Linked DNA regions of Homo sapiens: region 1 is linked to region 2. The links are contacts of gene promoters, found by promoter capture Hi-C in human tissues and cell types (Jung and others, 2019). All regions are on one chromosome and are shown on one strand. Each heading gives the region's core, a stretch centred on a gene start or on the middle of the fragment in contact. The rest is flanking DNA. Distances are from core to core; before and after follow the strand shown. Region 1 overlaps IL4R (interleukin 4 receptor). Region 2 holds the start of IL21R (interleukin 21 receptor).

The links. The method cuts DNA at HindIII sites, captures the fragments that hold promoters and counts their contacts. A contact is called where the count stands out against the background at its distance.
Region 1: a fragment that was not itself captured here is called in contact with the fragment with the promoter of IL21R in region 2 in 1 of the 25 tissues and cell types used here (lymphoblastoid cells).

Annotation. Positions count from the first base shown.
Region 1 is chr16:27,364,312-27,371,045 of GRCh38, reverse strand. It overlaps IL4R (interleukin 4 receptor), which reads right to left. Exons shown (of 11, transcript NM_000418.4): 11 at 6,268-6,734. Among named protein-coding and RNA genes, the nearest start is that of IL21R, 34 kb to the left of the region's middle. RefSeq lists a silencer at 1,032-1,232 and enhancers at 3,246-3,325, 3,356-3,415, 4,789-5,988, 6,474-6,734. The HindIII fragment of the contact is 9,103 bases long and covers 634-6,734 here.
Region 2 is chr16:27,396,827-27,403,423 of GRCh38, reverse strand. IL21R (interleukin 21 receptor) reads right to left here and starts at 1,250. Exons shown (of 9, transcript NM_181078.3): 1 at 806-1,250. RefSeq lists enhancers at 619-738, 631-1,173. The HindIII fragment of the contact is 8,819 bases long and covers 1-6,597 here.

The DNA.
Region 1 (6,734 bases), core at 3,936-6,435, 36 kb after region 2:
TTTATGATCTTGCAATTCCAGAGGTCAGAAGTCTGAAACTGGTCTCACTGAGCTCAAAATCAGGGTGTTAACAAGGCTGTGTTCATTCCAGAAACTCTAGGGAAGTCTGTTCCTTGACTTTTCCAGTTTCAAGTGGTCACCTGCATTCCTTAGCCCATGGCCCTTCCCTCCATCTTCAAAGCCAGCAGCATAATATTTTGAAATCTCTCTCTGACTTGGCTTCTCCTGCATCTCTCACTTATGAAGATCCTTGGGATTATATTGGGCCTGTCTGGATAATTAAGGATAATCTCCCTCTACATCTCAGGTTCAGTTGATTAGCAACCCTGCTTCCATCTGTAACCTTAATCCCCCCCTTGCCATGTAATGTAACATGTTCACAGGTTCCAGGGATTGGGACATGGACATCTTGGGGGGTTCATTATTGTACCTACTACAATTTTTAAGGTTGCTTTATGACTGCAAAAGAAAACTCACAGTGGTTTAAAGAAAAGCACACTTACAGTTTATTTAAGAATTTAAGGTTGGTTTGATCACTTGGTGATGTAATCAAAGCCCCAGGCAGGCCTTCTTCTTCTTCCACTCCACCATATTCAGAATGCCTCCTTTCATCTCCAGGCTTGTCTCCTCATGATTGCAAAAGCACCATCCAAAGCAGAAAGGAAGGTGGCAAAGGAGCCTTCTCCTCCATGCTGCTTTTTGATTAGGAAGGAGAACTGCTGACTTGCTCTGTGGTTCCATGGCAGAGAGGAAGGTCAGGCAGCCCAGCTATGTTGACCAACTCAAGCTAAATTTGCTGCTAGAAATCAGGAAATCATGGATGGTGGTGGAAGGGGGAGGATGCGTAGGGCCTGGTGTGCCCAGGGCAGAGCAGCAGGTGGCCAAGAGCCTGTCCCAGGAAATGCCAGTTCCTGGGTGGGATCACGCTAAGGTGGGTCATCAGTATATAGGAGTGGTGGTTCAGGGCAGCCAGAATCAGAGATCAGCCTATAGCTGGGATCAAAGATCCATCTGTGGTGAGGGTCAGGGGTCAGCATGTGGCTGGGGCCAGCCTGCAACCAGGATCATGAGTAAGTCAGTAACATGGGTCGGGACTCAGTTCCTGGCTTGAGTCAGAGCTGTTCTGTGGCTGAGGACAGGAGGTGGACTGTGGCCAGGATCAGAAGTCAGTCTGTGGCTGGATCAGGGTCATTCTGTGGTTGGAGTCAGATATCATAATGGAGTTGGGATCAATCAGTTTAGTCTTCTCTGTCTGTCTTTCTCTCTGCATCTCTGCTTCTCTCTGTCTCATTCTCCTTTGCTGTAAACACCTGTTGGAAGCTCAGCAACTTGGGTCCATGGGGAAGAGGGAAGTTGAGTCTGGGCAAGGTCCTATAAGTCCCGGTATGGAAGAACATAAGGGAAAAAGAGAAAAATGTCAGGAATATAAAGATATTCCCTAGAAAAATGTCAGGAATATAAATATATGTATGTATGATGAGAAATGAATGATATAAAACCGCAAATACGCAAACACTGACTCTGCATGTAAACAACACACAGAAGTGGCACAAACAGATACAAACACAAGTGGGTTGAATGATGGGATTGGGACAATTTTTTGTCCTGGATTACTGTTGCTCCATTCTGCCCTTTTTGTAATAAAGTCAAATTAAATTTAGAATGTCATTATTTCCTCTAATTATGTTTTATACCCTCACCTCCCACAAAATCCACAGACATATTCAGTGTAATATTAAGGATAATGTTAGCAGACTAGGCATGGTGGCTCACATCTGTAATCCTAGCACTTTGGGAGGCCGAGGTGGATGGATTGCTTGAACCCTAGGAGTCTGGGACTAGCCTAGGCAACATAGTGATTCCCTGTCTCTACAAAAAATTAAAAAACAAATTAGCCAGGCTTAGTGGTGTGTGCACCTGTGGTCACAGCTACTTGAGAGGCTGAAGTGGGAGAATCACATGAGCCCAGGTGTTCAAGGCTGCAGTGAGCCGGGATTGGGCCACTGCGCTCCAGCCTGGGTGACAGAGAAAGACCCTGTCTCAAAAAAAAAAAAAAAAGAAGAAGAAGAAGAATGTTAGCAAATACTTTTAAGGCATTAACTATTTGCAGGCATAGTTCTTTTTTTTTGAGACAGAGTCCCACTTGTTGCCCAGGCTGGAGTGCAGTGGCACAATCTCCGCTTGCTGCAACCTCTGCCTCCTGGGTTCAGGCAATTCTCCTGCCTCATCCTCCCGAGTAGCTGGGATTACAGGCACCCGCCACCATGTCTGGCTGATTTTTGTATTTTTAATAGAGACAGGGTTTCACCATGTTGGCCAGGCTGGTCTCAAACGCCTACCTCAGGCAATCTGCCCACCTTGGCCTCCCATAGTGCTGGGATTACAGGCGTGAGCCACTGTGCCCAGCCGCAGGCATAGTTCTAAGGACCTCACAGGTACTAACATATTTAATTCTCACAATAGCTACATGAGGCAGATATTATAATGATTCCCATTTTACAGATAACGAATCAAGCACAGAGAGGTTACACGCTGGCCTGGCGCCACACAGCATATCTAATGGACATTAGGCTCTTTTGTCTGGTGCTGGGGGAATTTCTGGAAAATGCAGAGATGGAAGAGAGGTGGGATCGGGGCAGGGCGGGTGGGGAATCTCCCAGGCCAAGTTTTCTGGGCACGGCCTGGACCTGGAGCTGCTGGGATGGAGCAGGTGCTGATGCTGATGTGGTCACCAGAGGGCAGCAGGGACCAGGGAGCTGACTTCCTCTTCACACCCCCTCCACCCGGGGCGGTGCCCCTGACTTGTCAATAAACGTCGTGGAAACAGGTGGGATTTGGTGGAAGAACTGACACGGTCCCGCCACCATCACAGGCAAGTTAAGCTTGAGAGCAGCCTGGTGTCACCTGGCCTCCACCCACCACGTCATCTGCTGCTCACCCCACCACTGTGGCGTGCAGAGTACTGCTCTTGTGTGCCTTTTACCAAGGAGGAAATTTAGGCCCAGAGTGGGCAAACACTTTTCCCATGGTCACACAGCTTGGAATTGGAAAGGCTGGACCTAACCAGGCAGGGTGAGCGCAGAGCCCTTGTTCCTCTGAGTCTCTGTTCTGAGCTGGAACCAGGGAAGATGATGAGCCCATGGTATATACAGGGCGGTTAGCTAGGACTCTGGTTTGAAGCCTGGCTATGCCACTCGGTAACAGCACATCGTGGGCAAGTCCCATGCAGCCTCATCGGCTGCCGGGAGGATCCAGTGACGTCAGGCCTCCCTCGTGGTGGGAGCTCAAACACTTGCTGGGTTTTTTGTTTTTTCGGTGTTTTGCTTTTTGTTTTTTAATTAATAACTTTCGTGGGAAAAATAAAGTCAGAAAGGTTGTTCAACCGGATGTTCACGGAGATACTACGCCTTCAAAAACAAGCGCTCATTTCGTGATCGCCCACACAGTGCCAGATGCTGGGGCGGGGATGGGATTTCCGGTGGTTTTTCTTCACTTTCCTCTTTATATCTTCAGGCTTTCTCTGAATAGGAAAAGGTCTGCACGTGCTGATAGAGTAATCAGAAAAATGCAATAAGCCACTTTTTGTAAAAAAAAAAAAAAAATTCAGATGCACTCACTGCCTTCCTCCCCCCTTTCCCCCTCCCCTCATCCCCCACAAATTCTGTGTAAAGGCAGGGCTGAGGGAGTACCCCCAAATCAACATCTCTGAAAGCTCCCCCGCAGGGGCCCAGGCCACTCAGCCCACTCTGGCGCTGCTACCCAGGGGCGTCCCCTCCTGCCCTCTGGTCCAGCCCCGGAGGCTGAAACTCCCGCAGCCGGCATCTCACTGGGCCTATGACCCTGGACTTTTCCTACTTCCTGCAGGGTGGGGGCCAGCCTGAGTTGGGCCCACCTGATCCACCAGGTCTTCTCATCCCTCTGTAGCTTCCCAAAGCCCAGCCAGTTCAGTAATAGTTGCTGAGGCCAACAACTTGGATTTCTTTTGCCTAAGATCCTTTGTTGGGCTCCCAGTCCCATTGCATCTCTAGCAGTCAAATATATTTTCTATTTGCTGCCTAATTTTTAAATTAGATTTCTCTGAGACAATGCTCAGGCAAAGTGGATTCGAGCCGACATCTGCGTAGGTGTCAGGATGACATAAGCTGATATATCACGGCGGCTGGGAGCTCTTAGGTCAGACCCGGGTTCAAATCCTGGCTCCAGGATTTCCTAGCTGTGTGGTTCTAGGCTAATCCTCAACCTCTCTGGACCTGTTTCCTTATCTGTAAAATTGGGATAATCATTGAGCCTCCCAACTAGAGCTGTTTGGAGACGTAAATGACACAGTGGCTGGACGGCACTTAGCATATTGCTTGGCCCTAAACAGATAACTATTTTTATTTAAAATTATATTTTATTATAAAGAGCTTTTGGAGGCAAGAAGTCCAGAAGGCTAGTTCAGGCTCTGCCATTCTCTGGGTGACTTTGGGCAAGTCCCTTTTCCTCTCTAAAACTGTTTCTCCATCTGTAAACTGTGTGATTTGGGCAGCTAAAGGGATTGATTTTGGCTTAGAACAAGGTTTTTTTTGTTTTTTTTTTTTTTTCCTGAGACAGGGTCTCACTCTGTCATCCAAGCTGGAGTGCAATGGCACAATCTCAGCTCACTGCAACCTCCGCGTCCCAGGTTGAAGCAATTCTACCAACTCAGCCTCCCAAGTAGCTGAGATTACAGGCACCCACCACCACACCCGGCTAATTTTTTATTTTTTGGTAGAGATAGGGTTTCACCATATTGGCCAGGCTGGTCTTGAACTCCTCACCTCAAGTGATACACCCGCCTCAGCCTCCCAAATTGCTGGGATTACAGCCATGAGCCATCATGCCTGGCGCAAGGAGGTGTTTCTAACAAACATCAGGCTGCATGTGAGGTAGAGAGCTCCCCATCATTTCCAGTGTAGTATGTAGGCTCCTAGAGCAGGAAGGAATCTAAAATGGCCAAGCCCCTCAAGTGTGAAATCAGGGCAGCTACTCAGAGAAGCAAAAGTGATACAGACATAGGAGCTTCAGGTTCCCAGCCTTCCCATCTAAGGCCCACACCATCCCTCTGCCTGCCTCGGATGTGAAGCGCAGATCACTACAGAGAGCCTGGGTGATGGAGACACTGTCTGGATTCCACTATAGATCTGTTGCTAACTAGCTGTGTGACCTTGGCAGTGTATCATCAGCCACTGTTGGTGTCCTGTTCCTGTCTTCTTGGTGTGCCAGAGTCTCTCAACACCTCCAACTCTCAGTTGAAGAATTTTTTTTTTCCTGGAGTAGCTGGAAGTGCTGGAGAATTAATGCTCCTGGAAGCAGCTCTCAGCCAATGACAGATGGGAGCTGGTGGACAAATACCCCAGCTCCCTCTCCTTTGCAGGCATAACTGGGCATGTGCCATGCATGGTCTTCCAGAGATCCCCGGCAGGTAAGCATCAGTTACTCATGCTGGTAATCTGTTGAATAACTCACCCTTTTGTCAGAGGTTTATTTAAACTGGAGCTTTGAAGAGGGGCTGGGTAAAATGAGGCTGAGACTTACTGGGCTGCATTCCTGGGAGGTTAGGGCATTCTTAGTCATAGAATGAGACAGGAGGTCGTCACCGATACAAGTCATAAAGACCTTGCTGATAAAACAGGTTGCAGTAAAGAAGATGGCTCTAACCCACCAAAACCAAGATGGCAACAAGAGTGACCTCTGGTTGTCCTCACTGCTACACTCCCAACAGCGCCATGACAGTTTACAAATGCCATGGCAACATCAGGAAGTTACCCTATATGGTCTAAAAGGGAGGCATAATAATCCACCCCTTGTTTGGAATATAATTAATCAATAACCATAAAAATAGGCAGCCAGCAACCCTCAGGGCTGCTCTGTCTACGGAGTAGCCATTCTTTTATTCCTTTACTTTCCTCATTAACTTGCTTTCACTGACTCTATGGACTCGCTCTGAATTCTTTCTTGCATGAGATTCAAGAACCCTCTTTTGGGGTCTGCATCTGGACCCCTTTCAGGTAACACTTTCTTGGTTTGTGTCCTTCCCTGCCTCAGTTCCCCACTACCTTAGCAGGGTTTCCCGGGATTACTTCCTAAATCAACTATTTGAATCCTTGTATGGGGAACCCAAACCCAGATGGCAAGTTTCTTAACCTCTTGCATCCTGGTTCCTCTGGATGGGTGAATTCCAGGAGTTAACAGAGACACAGCACTCACAGCAGTGTCTGGAGGTATGTTTGGTTAATACATAAAAAATAAAGAGACAAAGAAACTTTATTTATACAAAACTCCACCCCTTCTGTTCCACTCTCCTCAGCAAACACAGATAACAGGTGATGAAACTAAAACACACAGACGAGCATTACTCAACCCAAGGTTCCCGCCTTCCCTAGCACCTGAGGTCTGGGCCAACATGCAGGGTAACTGGTGCCTTATGCCTGCTGTCTGGATTGCCCGGCCCACAGGGTGGCTGAGCATATTTATTCTGGGGGTTCCATGCATACGAGGAGCCCCCAGCCATACAGCTGGGCATGGGTGTTTGGCAGCAAATTGTCCCTGCTTTAGTCATAGCAATTTTTCATGTCCTCTGTTGCTCCCCTTAACTGAACACCCCTTGACAGCCGGGATTCTGCCTCCAGCATCAACCTAAGGAAGCTCTGTTAAATGAATGAGCACCTCTAGGCAATGACCACCCTCCCTGAAGTTCAATTTCTCATCGATTT
Region 2 (6,597 bases), core at 1-2,500:
CCTCCTGGCTTTGAATGTCCCGCACCTGGTCTTCTGCCTTCACTGAGCAGAGACGTCATTCCTGCGGCAAGTCCTAAGTTCCCGCTCCCCAGGGCTCCTCCACCAGGAATGTTCTTCCTTTCCCATCCTTCAAGGCTCAGCCTCCACTGACCTCCCCACCCTCCTCTCCTCCACATGCACAGGGAACTGGGTTGGCCTCTTACCATCCGACCCGTTCCCCGTGCTTCATGAGAAAGATGCAGCGACAGCTCATGGGGTCACCTGGCTTGACTGCCCGACCTGCTACGTCCCAGTTGAGTCACCGAGGGAAAATCACTCTACCTCTCGCAGCCTCATTGCCTCATCTGCGAAATGGGCACACCAGCCATTGTTTTGAATGACTGGGTGGAATCAAGGTGGTAAGACATAGAAACTGACACAGAATGGGTCCCATCAGGCTCTACACCCATGCCCGTCACCTCCCGACTCAGCCGCCCAGAATCGGGTGATTGACATGTTATGTTTGGCTTGAAACTGGCTTTCCTTCCCCAGCCCGCTACATTTTGGAGGCTGGTTTTCAAGATAGAGGGTCGTCTCAGCCACATCCCTGCTGCTGGGCCCCTAAGCTGTGCTGAACAAGAGACCCCAACCTCATTTCTGCCCAGCCTCACTGCATGAATCTTCTTTGCCTCAGTGTCCCCAATTGTGACTTGGGCACAGTCCTCCGAGCCCTCCCACTGTGACACTAGATGCAGCAGGCAGGGAACAGTCCCTCCTGGGCAGAGAAGGCACCCTGGTCCCAGCAGAAAACCAGGGCTGGAATTACCTTCTGTTTCGGCTTCTTTCTCAGAAATCCATTCCGTGTGCTGGGGGCAGTCTGATGGGCTTCTGGGGGTGGCAGCTGGGTTCAGCGTGGGGGTGACAGATGAGGGTCTGAGAAAGCAGGCAGAGGCCTGGGGTGAGAATCCACACCCAGCCCGAGTCACCAATCAGGCTGTCATAAGACCTGTCACTCTGATGACGGGCAGCTGGGCCTCCAGGCAGGTGTCCCACAGAGCAGCAGACAGAGGAAAGAGACGGCAAGGAAGGTACCAGGCGGCCGCAGCAGGGATGCACGGGCCGCAGACAGACAGACACAGCTGCGTGGCTGTCAGCCACACTCAGGGAGAGGCAGGCAGAGGGCCAGACGCCGAGCTTACGGTCACTCAGCAGAGAGACGCCAGTGGGTCTGTCTGAGGCCGCTGGCTGCCACCCAGCCGCATGTGCAGAGTGGGGAGGAAGAGGAGGATGTGGTGAGCCGCTCCCCGCCAGCCCCGCCCACCCGCAGCTGGGCTCCTCCTGGGAGGGAGTGAGAAAGAGGTGGGAGGGGGCCTGGCCCCACAGCAGGCACCCACTGTCACCAAAGGTCACCTGCAAGTAAGACATTTGGGGCCATCGGGGTGACACTTCCCTCTTAGGGACCTGTGACATCATCCCCACAGGCCTCTCAGTCATAACCCATGAGGCAGGCAGTGCCTCCTGGAGCCACCACATTGCACAGATATGGAAACTGAGGCCAGAGGTGTGAAGATGTGGCACAGTTTCACCCGTGGACCCAGAGTCCTCAGTGGCCGACTCCAGCCCCTCAGCACAGAGAGAAGGACCAGAACCTTGCCCAAGGTCCCACGGAAGCCCCTTTTTCAGACTTTGCAAACCAGCCTGTTTCTTATTCCTGAGCCTTACCTGCCTAATAGGGTCTGAGCTTGGGACCCTCTGCTCTGGCTTGACCCCCATGCCTCTCTGCCTCCATTTCCTTTGGATCCAGTCTCCTGCTGCAGAGCTCCAGGGAGCAGGACCCCTTGGGCACGTCACATCACCTCTCTGAATGCCTCACTTTGCCCATCTGTCAAATGGGGGCACCTAGCTATGAGGAAGAGGGCAGACATTAACACATGAGAATTCAAGAAGAAAATAGAGAAAAGAAATTCTCAAGAGAGTTTTCATCTTGCTAACATGCCAGAGGCCCATGAGAGGGTCAGATGTTTCTGGAAGACATTCAAGAAACCAGGAGACAAAATGTAACAAGCTTAATGCCTAGTGCAGTCTCCAAAGGAGAGCAAGAGAATTGCTACCACCACCACCGCTACCACCACCACCACTACCACTGCCATCACCACCACCTCGAATTACTTTGGTGCCTACATGATCTCACTTTATCCCACAAAGTGTGAGGCAGACAAGATTAGTCCCATTTTACAGATGGAGAGACTGAGGCCCAGAGGAGTGAAACGTCACACAAGCCAAGAAGAATTAGAGCTGGGATTTGAACCTGGGTGTGTTTGATTCCTAAGCTTATACCAGGCTGTGAAAACGGGGCCATACCAGGATGAAATGTCCCACAGTTGGGGGAGGCTATTTTATGCTGTTTTGATAACAAGATGCAATTTGTAGCTCTCCCTGCTGACTCATTTTTGGGAATCAACTTGCTGTTGACTTTCGTGACCACTCCAGAGAAAAAAGAGAAAGCGTCTTGCTATTCTTTCTTTCTTTTTTTTTCTAGCTGTTTTTGAGGAACTTGGTACAAATTCCCCTGTGGTTGATTTGAGGGATCCTGGCCCTGTAGAGCTCTTCCCAGCTACCGAAGTGTGTCGTGTTCTCTGGAGAACGAACCTTGGGAAGACACCAGCTTTTGTTTTTCTTTCTCTTGATCTTCGGGGTGAATTCTCTGATAACATGCACTGAAATTTGTAGTGGTTGAAAGATCAGGAGAAGAGACAGTAAAAAGAGCTAATATTTGCTGAAAGCTCATTGTGTGCCAGGGTTTTAAGGACTTTAAAGATGCACCCTCTCATTTAAACCTCAGAAATACTCGAGAAGGCTGTGTGCAGCGGTGCACACCTATAATTCCATCATTTTGGGAGGCTGAGGTGGGAGGATCGATTGAGGCTAGGAGTTCAAGACCAGTCTGGGCAACATAGCAAGACCCTGTCTCTATAAAAAAATTTAAAAATTAGACAGTCATGGTGGTGCACGCCTGTAGTCCCAGCTACTCTGGAGGCTGAGGTGGGAGGACCACTTGAGCCAAGGAGCTGAAGGCTGCAGTGAGCTATGACTGTAGTGCTGCACTCAAGCCTGGGCAACAGAGCAAGACTCTGTCTTCAAAAATAAAATCCCCAAAATGAAAAAGAATGAGTCTAGAAGATAGTTATCATCATCATCATCATCGTCCCTGTTTTACAGATGAGGAAACTGAGGCTCAGAGAGGTTAAGTGACTTGTCCAAGGTCACACAGCTGATGAGTGCCAGAGTTGGGATTTGAACTCAGTCATTTGGGCTCCAGAGCCCGCACTCTTAACTCACTACACTGCTCTGGGGTGTGTATGAAAACAAGGATATTCAATTTCTCCTCCCTCCCTCCTGCCTGCCTTCTTTATCTACCTGCTTTCTACCCACCCACCTACCTATCCACCCATTCATTCTTCTCTGCACCCACCCACCCAGCCATTCCTTGCTTCCTCCCCCTAATATTTATTGAGCAGGCTCAGAGAGGTTAAGTGACTTGTCCAAAATCACGCAGCTTGGCTACATCCTGGGGCTAGCCCACAGAAATATACACACAGTGACAGCCCCCATGGAGCCTATATTCTAGTAGGGAGAGTTAGACAAAAAGAAGTAACAGACAAACTCAATGTAAACTGTACTAAATGTCATAGAAAACCAATGAGAGATCAAGGTTGTGACATTTGGGGGTACACTAGGTGCTAAGAAGTGCCCAGCCATGGGAAGAACATTATCGGCAGAAGGATCTGCAAGTGCAAAGGCACTGAGGTAGGAAAGAATGTGGCTGGCTCCAGGAACTTGAGAACAGCATGGCGTAATACAGTGAGCAAATGGAGGAATAGTAGAAGGTGAAGGCACGGAAATCACACATCTACACCACATGGGACCTCACGGTTTTGGGTGAGGAAGGTAGATTGTTCCAAAGGAAATGGGAAGTCATCATTGGAGGGTTTCATCTTAAGAGTGGCTTAATCCAGTTTACATTTTCAGTTCAGGCCAGGAGTTGGGGAATGGGTGGGATCAGCAGGGGTCACAGTCCCTTGGTGCTTAAAAAGTAGATGCATTTGGAGCTGCCAGGCCCATGTCCACTGGGGTAAACATGAGTCCCCTCAGAAATAGACATGTGGTCCCTTGAGGGGTTCCTCTGGGTCTGTAAATGTCTCATAAGTATGGCCTCTATACCCTTGGAAGGAAGGTGCCATAGGATCTCAGCGGCCCTCCAACCATGCCTCAGTGCTGATAGCTGGTCAGCGGGGAGGAAGTGGTCACATTTGCATTTCAGCCAAGGGGCCTCCTGGGAAAAAATAATTGACACACCCCCTCCCTCAACCCATTTCCTCTTTTTTATTTTTATTTTAAGAGCTTTATTTAGCTATGTTTTACATAACATAAAATCAAGCCACTGTAAATGTACAGTTCAATGATTTTTAGTGAATTTATCGAATTGTGCAATTATAACCACGATCCAATTTTAAAACAATCCCATCACTCCTGAAAGGTTCCTTGTGCCTGCTTATAGTCAATCTCCATTCCCATTCCCAGGGCCACTCGTCTACTTTATGCCTCTACTGATTTTGCTTTTTTTTTTTCCTAGGCATCTCATATCAATATGTTGTCTTTTGTGTTTAGTTTCTTTCAGCATCGCGTGTTTGGGGTTCAACCACGTTGTAGCGTGTGTTGGCACCACATATCTAAAAATCCATTTTTAGGCCAGGCGCGGTGGCTCATGCCTGTAATCTCAACACTTTGGGAGGCCAAGGTGGGCGGATCACTTGAGATCAGGAGTTCGAGACCAGCTTGGACAACATGGTAAAACCCCGCCTCTACTAAAAAATACAATAATTAGCCTGGTGTGGTTGCACACGCCGGGAGATTGAGACCAGCCTGGCCAACATGGTGAAACCCTGTTCTACTAAAAATACAAAAATTAGTTAGGTATGGTGACGTGCACCTGTAGCCCTAGCTACTCAGGAGGCTGAGGCAGGAGAATTGCTTGAACACGGGAAGTGGAGGTTGCAGTGAGCAGAGCTAGTGCCACTGCCCTCCAGCCTGGGAGACAGAGCGAAACTCCATCTCAAAAAAATAAAAAATAAAAATTGATTTTTATTGCTGAAGAATATTACATTGCATAGATATGCCACATTCATTTATCCTTTCATGAGATGATGGACATTTGGAGTATGTCCACTTTTTCCTTTACTACAAACAAGCATGCTATGAACACTTGCATGCGAGTCTTTGTGTAGACATGCATTTTCAAATCTTTTGGATATATACCCAGAAGGAGACTTGTTGAGTTAAAGGTAGTTTAACTTATTAACTTTTAAATAAGTTTAACTTATTAAGAAACTGACAAACTGTTTTTCACAGCAGCTGCCCTGTATTATATTCCCACCAGCAATGTCTGAAGGTTCCCATTTCTCTACGTCCTTGACAATATGTATTTTCTTTTTTTTTTTTTTCTTTTTTTTTTTTTTTTTGAGATGGAGTCTCGGTCTGTCGCCCAGGCTGGAGTGCAGTGGCGCGATCTCGGCTCACTGCAAGCTCCGCCTCCCGGGTTCACGCCATTCTCCTGCCTCAGCTTCCCGAGTAGCTGGGACTACAGGTGCCTGCCACCACGCCTGGCTAATTTTTTGTATTTTCTTTTGTAGAGACGGGGTTTCACCGTGTTAGCCAGGATGGTCTCGATCTCCTGACCTCGTGATGCGCCCGCCTCGGCCTCCCAAAGTGCTGGGATTACAGGCGTGAGCCACCGCACCCAGCAGACAATATGTATTTTCTGTTGGTTTTTATTATAGCCATCCTAGCGGATGTGAAGTGGTATCTCATTGTGGTTTTGATTTGCATTTCCCTAATGGCTAATGATGGTAAGCATCTTTTCATGTGCTTGGTAGTCATTTGCATATCTTGTTTGGAGTAATGTCTATTGAAGTCCCTTGCCAAATTTTATTTATTTTATTTTTTTTTTAGACAGAGTCTTGATCTGTCTCCCACACTGGAGTGCAGTGGTGTGATCTTGGCTCACTGAAACCTCTACCTCCTGGGTTCAAGCGATTCTTGTGCCTCGGCCTCCCGAGTAGCTGGGCTTACAAACGTGTGCCACCATATCCAGCTAATTTTTGTGTTTTTAGTAGAGACGGGTTTTCACCATGTTGACCAGGCTGGTCTCGAACCCTTAACCTCAGGTGATCCGCCCACCTCAGTCTCCCAAAGTGCTGGGATTACAGGCATAAGCCACCGTGCCCAGCTCCTTGCCAATTTTTAAATTTGATTGTTCATCATTTGTTGTTGAATTTTAAGAGTTCTTTGTATATTCTGGAAACTCACCTTTATCAGATATATGAATTACAAATATTTTTCCCATTCTGTGGCTGTCTTTTCACTTTGTTGATAGTGTGCTTTAATGCAAAAAAAATGAAAAAAAATTGACTATAGATTCATGGGTTTATTTCTGAACTCTAAGTTCAATTCCATTGATCTATATGTCTAGCCTTGTGCCAGGATTATCACACTGTTTTGATTACTGTAGCTCTGCAGTAAGTTTTGTTTTGTTTTGTTTTTGTTTTTGTGTTGTTTTGA